2 separate regions of the Homo sapiens genome follow, and region 1 is linked to region 2. Evidence: promoter capture Hi-C in 16 types of primary human blood cells and fetal thymus (Javierre and others, 2016). All regions are on one chromosome and are shown on one strand. The core of a region is centred on a gene start or on the middle of the fragment in contact, and the rest is flanking DNA. Distances in the headings are between cores, read along the strand shown.

What was found. Contacts are between HindIII fragments. The CHiCAGO score rates a contact against its expected background, and 5 or more counts as called.
Region 1: a fragment that was not itself captured here is called in contact with the fragment with the promoter of TTI2 in region 2 in 1 of 17 cell types (activated CD4 T cells); the score reaches 6.1 in activated CD4 T cells.

What each region holds. Positions count from the first base shown.
Region 1 is chr8:38,891,567-38,897,176 of GRCh38, reverse strand. No RefSeq gene overlaps it. Among named protein-coding and RNA genes, the nearest start is that of PLEKHA2, 7.0 kb to the left of the region's middle. The HindIII fragment of the contact is 2,100 bases long and covers 351-2,450 here.
Region 2 is chr8:33,509,780-33,515,454 of GRCh38, reverse strand. It overlaps TTI2 (TELO2 interacting protein 2), which reads left to right and starts at 2,320. Exons shown (of 8, transcript NM_001102401.4): 1 at 2,320-2,373; 2 at 2,743-3,488; 3 at 5,523-5,675. The coding sequence starts at 2,842. SNORD13 (small nucleolar RNA, C/D box 13) reads right to left here and starts at 1,980; the gene lies at 1,877-1,980. RefSeq lists enhancers at 339-628, 2,149-2,288 and a silencer at 1,669-1,718. The HindIII fragment of the contact is 19,476 bases long and covers 1-5,675 here.

The DNA of each region.
Region 1 (5,610 bases), core at 151-2,650, 5.4 Mb before region 2:
TTAGGGAAAGTGTGGGGCCAAAGAGGCCAAGGTCATTGGTTTGATTCTGGCTCAGGCCAGTTCATTTTGCACAGAGATGGATTGCTCCAGGGCTATACACTGCACCTCTAATGTTAGCCAGTCATTTTATAAATAGTTGCTATGGGTTTTGATAGCAAAGTATGAATAGTTCTGTACCATCCATTTCTAGAATGATTGCTCAAACTGCCATTGTTTTATTCAGTCCAATTCATTCAACAAACAATTATCTGAACCCATTACCATTTTTCCTTCTGTATGTCTTGCATTTACTTGTTTTCCAGGTACTTACTAATTGCTAATTGTTATGCATGTATTATCTCATTTAAGCTTTATAATGACAATGACCCTGCCATTATTTTATGGTGATGAGATGGCTAAGGCATACAGATAAAGCCCTGATACAAACCTGGACAGCCAGAGGCCAGAGCCTGGTCTTTTACCTACCAAGCTACACTGGTAGATGCAATGTTAGGCCTTGTGAAGGATGCAGAAAAGCATAAAACAAGACTCTTCCTTCCCACCGCTGACACTTCCTATATTTATCATCATTTAGAATCTCCATTCCATTTCACCTAGCAATTGCCTATCCAAAGAAAGTTATATGGATATATAGATAGCAATACATGCACACACATATGTATTTATATTCACTGCAGCATTGGTCATAATGGTAAAAATTGGAAATCACTTTCATGCGCATCAAGAAGGGATTGAACAGGTGCATCACTACAATCTTATGCTATGCTGCACTTAGAAAAGAATGAGGGCTGGGTGGGGTGGCTCATGCCTATAATTCCAGCAGTTTGAAAGGTCAAAGCAGGAGAATCACTTGAGCCCAGGAGTTCCAGACTAACATGGTCAACATGGCGAGATCTGTCTCTGGGAACGATTTTTAAAAATTAGCTGGACATGGTGGTGCACACCTGTAGCCCCAGCTACTCAGGAGGCTGAGGCAAGAGGATCACTTGAGCCCAGGAGTTCAAGGTTGCAGTGAACTATGATTCCATCACTACACTCCAGCCTGGGCAACAGAACCAGACGCTGTCTCAAAAAAAAAAAAAAAAAAAAAAAGAATGAGGTAGATATCTATATGAAAAATACTATACATTTTAAGTGAAAAAAGTACAGAGCTTTACATGTAGTATAATTCCATTTCTGTAAATAATTTTTTGCATGAAAAAGCTCTATAAGAATACATTCCAAACTGTTAACCACAGTTCTCTTAGGGCAGGGGTAGAGGGGTGATAATGGTGGATTTCACTTTCTAAGAGATGTATTCTGTGAGGGTTCTTTTTTTGCAACAAGCATGCATGCATTTGGTTTTTTTTTTAAAAAAAGAACAGGAATGGCTTAAATTTTTAATAAAATTTAAAAGTTCCATGAGGAAGAAAATAATATTGCAGCCTTCGAGGAGCTCATCTCTTACTAAGGAGGGAACATAGTATGTACAGAAACTGATACATGCAGAGGAGAGCAGAGATAAAATTCCCCGGGAAGATTATCAACCAGCTGTGGTTGAGAAGGGCAGGGGAAAATGCATGAAGGACATGGCCCCTTGCAAGGACCTTGAAAGAAAGGTTAAAATGTAGAAAAGTGAAGAGGAGGTGAGAATAGGTGGATTCCAGATACAGAGATGATCAGAGGCAAAGCACAGAGCAGGACCACATGGGATCTATTCAGGGAAGTGTGGCTGGTACAGTTGAGCTGGAGCACGGGAGGACATAGGAAGGATTTTCATGGGGAATGAAACAGGAAAGAAAGGTAGCTGGAGTGTCTTTATTGCTAAGCTAAGGAGTCTGTACTTATTATTAGGCTTCAAGAGCCACTGAAGGCTTTTGAGCAAGGAAGGGACACAGTTGGAAGTTAACTGGCTGTGATTTCGTAGTTACTGGCTGCCTAGTAACTAGACTCTGGCACCCAGCTACCTAGTTTTGACTCCTGACTCTGTCACTAATTAGCTGAATAGCCAGGGACCAGTGACTTCTCTGTGCTTCTATAAAATGGGGAAGGTGGTGATGACAGATAACTGTCTCATACCATGGCATTTGGGATTGAGTGAATTCATGCTTTTAGGAAACATGGTTAAGTGCTGACAATGCTAAATTTGAAAAATCAGTGTCATACCTTTGGATTTAAATCCTCGTATTTCATTTGAAACTTTTATCCCAAAGAGCTAACACTTCATGATAAATTATTAACTATTCTTTTTCCCCCACTCTCAGGGAATTAGAGATTTTTCATCTCATTTTACAGATGGAAGAATTTAGGTTTTAAGAGAGCAATAGCATCTCAGAATCACACAGCCAGTCATGATCTGAATCCCTGGGTTCTGAATGGTAGTTCAGTGACCTTTGCCCAATACTTAAGGTTGTCTCTTAGCTCAAATTCTCAGAGCCTTGAGAGTAGGAAAATGGGGAGTGGAAGAAGCTTAGGAAATTTCTGTTTATAGAGTAAGAGGAACAGCAGTAAAGGACAGTAATAAGGTAAAATCAAAAAAGAGAAAACTCTGGTGGAACATCTGGAAGTTTATAAAATCAGACTTGTAAAATATAAACAGGAGATATACATATAAATATATATACATACACACATATACATACATACTTACTGGTGCTAAAGTTATTTCCTAGTAAAAAAGTTTGGAAAGCATTGTTGTACTGCTAAGTCTAACACTAATAGTGTCATTTCTCAGCCTCAGAAATGAGTGTGCGTGCCGTCCCCAGAAATAACAGTCTCCTGGCCAAGAGCACCATTCCTATTGATTCATGCTGATGGCATTGTTTTCCCATCAGTTTGAATAAGTGTAGTGCACCACTCGGAATTCTGCATCCTCAGTGATGCCCTGCAATTAGAGGGAAGAACTGGGACTTCCCAGTTCAGAGTGAGAGAATGAATAGGTACTTAACTTTGGATCTATGACCATGTTTTAGCACTGTTTGACTTTATTTTTGCTTAGACTAGTTAAATAATTCACTATAGACTAGTTAAATAATTCACTACTTCAGTACTGAGGCCACACAGGGGCTACTCTTAGTAAATACTTGTGGGTGAATATAGTCAAAGTTATTAGCAAGAATAAACTCTAGCCAGTTTATTCCAAGAGATGCCTATGGTAGTCAGTGAAGTGGGTTGACTTTTACATCAGTGATTCCCAATACAAGCTGATTATTATAAACCATAGAAAACAAAGAAAAGCAAAAAGGATATTTGGACACGTAGACTTATGTCCTTTTATTATTTTGTTAATAGGCAATATATATACACAGTACAAAGTTCAAAAGAATTAAATATTCCTTTTCCCCCACTCTCAGGGAATTAGAGATTTTTCATCTCACTTTACAGATGGAAAATTTAGGTTTTAAGGAGAACAATAGCATCTCAGAATCACACAGTAGAAAAGAATGAAGTCGATGCTTCCCTGCTTGACTTCTAAATTCTTGTGTTCTCACATACAAAGGAGTTACCAATTATTTTTTAAAAGTACAAAATAATGGGCTGGGCGTGGTGGCTCACGCCTGTAATCCCAGCAGATTGGGAGGCCAAGGTGGGCGGATCACGAGGTCAGGAGTTCGAGACCAGCCTGGCCAACATGGTGAAATCTCATCTCTATTAAAGATACAAAAAATTAGCCAGGCGTGGTGGCAGGCGCCTGTAATCCCAGCTACTTGGGAGGCTGAGGCAGGAGAATCGCTTGAACCTGGAAGGCAGAGGTTGCATTGAGCCGAGATGGCGCCATTGCACTCCAGCCTGGGTGACAGGGCGAGACTCCATCTCAAAAAAAAAAAAAAAAAGTACAAAATAACAACATTGAAAAGCAGTATTTCTTCTACCCATGTTCTCAAACACACTGTTATTCTTACCAGAGATAATCAATGTGTGTGTGTGTGTGTGTGTCTGTGTATGTGTGTGTTTAATACTAAATATTCAGTTTTGCAAGAATATACCTAAAAACGATAACAGTAATTACCCTAGTGGTGGACTTATAGGTGATTTTTAAAATCTTCTGTTTTTCTGGGTTTTCTAAGTTTTCTTTAATATGCATGTATTATTTTATGATTCAAGAAAAAAAAGTTTTACAAATAAATAGTTCTTACCATGAAAGTACTTCAGCTATCTCACAGATGTTTTGTGATTTAAAAACAATATAGAACTGGCCAGGCGCAGTGGCTCAGGCTGAGGTTGGTAGATCATGAGGTCAGGAGTTCAAGACCAGCCTGGCTAAGATGGTGAAACCCCATCTCTACTAAAAATACAAAAAATTAGCCAGGTGTGGTGGCAGGCACCTCTAATCCCAGCTACTCAGGAGGCTGAGGCAGATAATTGCTTGAACCCAGGAGGTGAAGTTTGCAGTGAGCCCAGATCATGCTACTGCACTCCAGTCTGGGCGACAGAGCAAGACTCTGTCTCAAAACAAGAAAATAAATAAATAAAAATAAATAAAAATAAAAATAAATAAAAACAACACAGAACTAACTTCATCCTCAAAAAATACTTGAAAATACTTGCCATGTCTGGGCATGCTGGCCCACACCTGTAACCCCAACACTTTGGGAGGCCAAGGTAAGCAATTGCTTGATCCCAAGAGTTCGAGATCAGCCTGGGCAACATAGTAAAACTCTGTCTCTACTAAAAATACATGGTGCCAGGCATGGCACCATGAGCATGTAGTCCTAGCTACCTGGGAGGCTGAGGTAGGAGGATCATTTGAGCTCAGGAGGTTGAGGCTACAGTAAGTGATGACTGTGCTACTGCACTCCCGCCTAGCCTGGAGGACCATAGAGAGGCCCTCTCTCAAAAAAAGAAAGAAAGAAAATGCCAGTCTGTGGATATATTTTTCAAAAAATTTTGGCCAGTTTTGTGTCCATTCACATTAAAACTCCTGCTACTGGAAAAGAGATGCAAAACGTAGTTAGCAGCTTGAACTCTGAGTCCTAGTGAATCAGCATGAGTCACTGGAGATAGGTAAGTTGCTCAGGAATCTTCTTTCAAATTTCATCATAATTTGTATGATGACTCCACATGTCCTTCAAACTACATTAAAATTAAGTGTAGCACCAGACTGGAGAATTAAGGCCAGTCCAGTTTAACTCCTTCATTTAGCAATTAAACTATCACAAACTAAATTTATCCTTACACCTAATACTTAATGATGCTGTGGGTGTTTTAATTGCCTGAATGACCAAATGCACCCTTCAGTGTCTGAAGTTGTCATAGTTCCAGCTCCCTAAGAAGATATAGGAACATGGTCACCTTTCTGGCAACTTCAGTTTCTGGAACAGAACTCTGAACTCATAAGGTGAGAAGAGAAGGGCCTCTGAGTTGCTAGCCAAAGTTCTGGGAGCCTTTCTTAGGTTTGATTATTGATTCCAATTGCATATCTAATTTCAGAAACCCTGGGAGTATGGTTTCCTAGCCCTCAGCATATCAGAAATCTCAGGAGAATGGAAGAACCACTGGAGAAGTGGGTGAGAGGGTGTGGAGGAGTGCATGGGTTTTGTTTTGTTTTGTTTTGTTTTTTTGAGACGGAGTCTCACTGTGTCACCCAGGCTGGAGTACAATGGCGTGATCTCAGCTCACTGCAACCTATGC
Region 2 (5,675 bases), core at 1,071-3,570:
TCGCGAGGCCAGGAGCTCGAGATTAGCCTGGGTAATACAGCGAGACCCCATTTCTACAAAAAAATTAGAAAATATTAGTAGGGTGTGGTAGGGCGCGCCTGTGGTCCCAGTTACTGGGAGACTGAGGCGGGAGGATCGCTTGAACCCAGGAGTTTGAAGCTGCAGTGAGATACGATGACGCCACTGCACTCCTGCCTGGGCCACGGAGCAAGACCCTGTCTCTAAAAAAATATTTTTTAATTAAATAAAAAATAAAAAGAAATGAAGGCACAGAGAGGCTACCGAACTTTTGCCCAAGGTCAGACAGCAAAATGGAAAGAAGGGCAGGCGAGTAGGCAGCAAGACACCGCAGATGGGACAGTTGCAAGTAGTGCACCAAGAAGCTGGTGCGCTCCCCAAGGTGGGACGAAAATACTGTATGTCCCTCTACCCCATAACCACCTCCTCGCGAGGACAAAGGACACCTGACACGTCACCCCTCCCTCGCCCCTGCGCGCACACACGCCCCTCACCCTACCCCAGGTCAGAAGACCCCGAAGGGCTTTCTCTGGACTCCTGGAACCCTGGAGGCGCAATTGACGCCTTAGAGGCTGAATAAGAGTCCCTCTCCGAGCAGCTGGCGACACGTCTCTCTCGCGCCACCCCTCCCAGGGTCCGAAGCTCCCGCCTGTGCAGTGGCACAAATGAAGTTTGCCTCCTCGGGCTCCTGCGAAACCGTGGAAGCTATGAGAGTCACAAGGTCCTAAATGGAAGCAGCTCCTCGGGAACTGAAGGCCAATCGGACGCAATTCTACCCTCCAGGAAAGCGCAGGAAGAGGGAACAAGCAATGCCGACGCGGCGTGGGGGACCCAACACAGGGCGGTCGCACAGGCGCGACCCTTCTCGCGCCTTCTCAAAACCCAAGCAAACACCACTGGTTCCTACACCCGCCGAGCCCGAGTCTGCAGCCTCCAGCTCCCCTGGCCCGTTCCGGGCGCCGCCTGCGACCCATGCCCAAGACAGCGCTCTGCTGTCCCTGCGCACCCGGCGCCGACACTGGCGGGGCGGGCCCAAGCCGGATCCGCCAACCCGACGACCCACCTCCCTCAGGGCTGCCCCAGACGCCAGCTGGGGGCTTCTACCTTGACGCTAGAATTTGAATTTTCAAACGCTTGTGGCTACAGGCTTTAAAACGCTAGCTCCAGAAACCAGCTAAAGTATTGCATTGAACAGAAAACCAAATACCGCATGCTCTCATTCATAAGTGGGAGCTAAACATTAGGAACACGTGGACATAAAAGTGGCAACAACAGACACTGTGGTCTACTAGAGGGGGCAATGAAAACGGGCTAAGCTGCACTCCAAATCCCAGCATCCCACAACATATCCAGGTAACAAACCTGCGCAGGTATCTCCCAAACCTAAAAAATTAAAGCCATTAAAAAGCTCTGCATTGGCCAGGCGCGGTGGCTCACGCCTGTAATCCCAGCCCTTTGGGAGGCCGAGGCGGGCGCATCACGAGGTCAAGAGATCGAGACCATCCTTGCCAATATTTATACAAAAATTAGCTGGGCGTGGTGGCGCGCGCCTATAGTCCCAGCTACTCGGGAGGCTGAGGTAGGACAATCTCTCGAAAACCGGAGGTGGGGGTTGCAGTGAGCCGAGATCGCAACACTGCAACTCCAGCCTGGCGACAACGCGAGACTCCGACTCACAAAAGAACAAACACAAAAACACATTACACAGTTGGACAACGGAAAAGCACCCGTGCGTGTAGCATACAGCCAGAAAAAAGGGCACCCGAAAACGGTAAACACAAAGCCATGAAACTAGGCCACCTGTTATCATAAGTAACAAGCCCACAAATACAAGTGTTAAATCGATCCTTGAAGTTCAGGTCAGACGGGTAATGTGCCCACGTCGTAACAAGGTTCAAGGGTGGCACATCTCACACAAGCGTATGAACACCCAATCATCACGCTCATGAACTACAAAAGGATCATCTTATAGTTGACATTAAGGAGTGCCAAGTATGTGCCACTAATTTACACATAGGGTGACTACCGTAATGCGATACATCCATTCTTCACGTATAAAATCCTGGATATTTTCAAAGTCCCACTGAGATTCTGTGATTATTCTTTTGTTTCTACCTTAGCAAAGGAAAACAGAAACACAATTAGCGAGCGGATTATTATATATGCAAATTTATTCTCTATAGTTCCACCTCTCCGTCATTTTCCCGAGCCTGGATCTTTATTGCTTTACGACCATACGTCGTGAAATAAGAAGGTGTTGCGGCAGTACTGGCGGAAGCTAGCCTTGCGTTTTGCGGCAGCAATATGAGCTAGGTCCGGATCCTGTTAGACACCGGCGGGCGCGAGCCGTTGCAGGTACCTGGGGGTGGTTAAGTTGGTGACATGGCTCAGAAGTTTATTTCTTTAAATTTTTAAGTTTTTTTTCTTTTTAGTCTTCAGAAAGGCAACAGTAGTCTTTTAACGTCACTGTTAAAAGTGTAAGACTCTTTTACTCCCTGAGAGTCCCCTTTCCCTTTCTTGCGTCCTTTCCTCTTTATTCTTTTTTTTTTTTTTTTTTTTACTGAGACGGAGTCTCACTCTGTCGCCCAGGCTGGAGTGCAGTGGCGCGATCTCGGCTCACTGCAAACTCCGCCTCCCGGGTTCACCCTTTCTCTTTATTCTTATCCCGGTCAGACTCGCCCCCTCCTCCAAGACATCTCTCTGTTTTATTTTATTTGATTTTAGTTCTCTTTGGGTGATCGCTCCTTCCCTCTTCAACGGATCCCTCCCCGCCTCCATCCTCGTTCTGTGGGAGAGACCAGCCTTCTGGTGCTGCAGTCAGGAATGGAGCTTGACAGCGCTCTGGAAGCCCCATCGCAGGAAGACTCTAATTTGTCCGAGGAGTTGTCTCACTCCGCCTTTGGACAGGCCTTCTCCAAGATTTTACACTGTCTTGCCCGCCCGGAGGCACGACGAGGCAATGTAAAAGATGCAGTTCTTAAAGACCTCGGTGATCTAATAGAAGCCACAGAATTTGATAGGTTATTTGAGGGGACTGGTGCACGGCTCCGCGGAATGCCGGAGACACTGGGGCAGGTAGCAAAAGCCCTGGAGAAGTATGCAGCCCCCTCCAAGGAGGAGGAAGGTGGAGGTGATGGGCACTCCGAAGCGGCCGAGAAAGCAGCCCAAGTTGGGTTACTGTTTCTTAAACTGTTAGGGAAAGTTGAGACTGCTAAGAATTCCCTGGTCGGCCCTGCATGGCAGACGGGCCTGCATCACTTGGCAGGACCCGTTTATATTTTTGCCATCACACACAGCTTGGAGCAACCATGGACCACTCCGAGATCTCGGGAAGTTGCTAGGGAGGTGCTCACCTCACTGCTTCAAGTTACTGAATGCGGTTCTGTGGCAGGATTCCTACATGGAGAAAATGAAGATGAGAAAGGGAGACTTTCGGTGATACTAGGGCTTCTCAAACCCGACTTGTATAAGTGAGTACTCCTGCCCTTTGCCACCGACTTGAGCCTCACAGTTTTTTATTTTTATTTTTTATTATTTATTTATTTTCGAGACAGAGTTTCACTCTTGTTGCCCAGGGTGGAGTGCAATGTTGCGATCTCAGCTCACTGCAACCTCCGCCTCCTGGGTTCAAGCGATTCTCCTGTGTCAGCCTTCGGAGTAGCTGGGATTACAGTTGCCCGTCACCACGCCTGGCTGATTTTTTGTATTTTTAGTAGAGACGGGGTTTCACCATGTTGGCCAGGCTGGTCTTGAACTCTTGACCTCAAGTGATCCACCCGCCTCGGGCTCCCAAAATGCTGGGATTACAGGCGTGAGCCACTGCGCCTGCCCTAGCTTAATTTTTTATAGCGTTATACCTCAAAGGAAGCTCAATTTCTTCAGCAGTAAAATAAGGGTGCTGTAACCACGGATCTCTTAAGGCCCAGAAACGTTGTGATTTGCTATAAATGACATAACTGGATAGTGGCAAATTGGAGGTCATAACTGAGATGTTCGGGCTCAGTTGTCCAATGCTCTTTCCAGCCCTTAGGACGACTGCCTAGGAAAATTGGAAATTCTGTCCCACTTACTTGGAGTTAATAATTACAAAATGTGGCCGGGCGAGGTGGCTCACTCCTGTAGTCCCAGCACTTTGGGAGGCCGAGGCGGGTGGATCACTTAAGGTCAGGAGTTCGAGACCAGCCTGGCCAACATTGTGAAACCCCATCTCTACTAAAAATACAAAAATTAGCTGGGCATGGTGGTGGACGCCTGTAATCCAAACTACTCGGGAGGCTGAGGCAGTAGAATCGCTTGAAACCAGGAGGCAGAGATTGCAGTGAGCTGAGATCGGGCCACTGCACTCCAATCTGGGCAACAGAGCAAGACATCGTCTCAAAAAAAATTACAAATTACTAGAATTTGGATGGGGGATTTAGAGAGGATTTAAACTTATGGTTTGAATTTAGACTTGGGGATCTTGAATCTCATTACTGCTTGTTAGAGAAGGATGACTATCAGCTAAGAAAGCCATGTTTAGGATAAAAAGTGAAAAGCACCTTTAGATTACTGTTAGCTGAAGTTCTTTCAATGAGTTTCCACTTGCTACTTTGTTAGCACTGGAGTAATGAGAGAAAAAGTATCTGTAACTGTCATTTTACCAGGAACACGGAATTAAAAGGCTTGATTTTGAGTTTCGTGCTTCTATTTGTTGCTCTGAGTAGGACCAGATTAGACAGTTATCTGAATCTGTTTGTTTCTAATATAAAGATAATATACTTGGCGGAGTGTGGTGGCTGACACCTGTAATCCCAGTACTTTGGGAGGCCAAGGCTGTCAGATCACTTGAGGCCAGGAATTCAGGACCAGCCTGGGCAACATGGTGAAACCCCGTCTCTACTACAAATATAAAAATTATCCGGGTATGGTGGTGCAAGTGTGTAATCCCATCTACTCGGGAGGCTGAAGCAGGAGAATCGCTTGAGCCTGGGAGGCGGAGGTTGCAGTGAACCCAGATGGTGCCACTGCACTCCAGCCTGGGCAATAGAGTGAGACTCTATTTCAAAATAAATATAATGTACCTATTACACAGTAATTATTTTGAGAATTAGTTAAGTCGTGTGTACACTCACTTTATTAGCGATTAACAGGTGTTCAAGTGTTGATTCATTTGTTTCCTTAGTGTAATACTACTAATCCATTTCCTTTACTCCTCCCTCCCTTCTCAACATACCTTCACCATCCATCACCATAAGTCCTTTATGTAGCTCTGGTTATAATTGACTCCTTCTCATTGGATAGGCTGTAGACCCAAAGCCCTGGATGATTATTTGGTGTAAGTTATGGAAGTTATTTTAATCCAGATCTTAGAATGTATGATATAGAATCAAGAGTTATCTTATGTGCGATGTATTTTTTTTTTCAAAGACATGAAAATACTCTGTTTAGCTTGAAGTAGTTTTTTTTTTTTTTTTTTTTGCTACTTATCACCATGTCACTTAATGTAATTCTATGTATTCACTTAGGGAATCCTGGAAGAATAACCCTGCCATCAAACATGTTTTCTCATGGACTCTGCAACAGGTCACTCGGCCCTGGCTGAGCCAGCATCTGGAAAGGGTACTTCCCGCATCATTGGTCATTTCAGATGACTATCAGACTGAGAACAAAATCCTGGG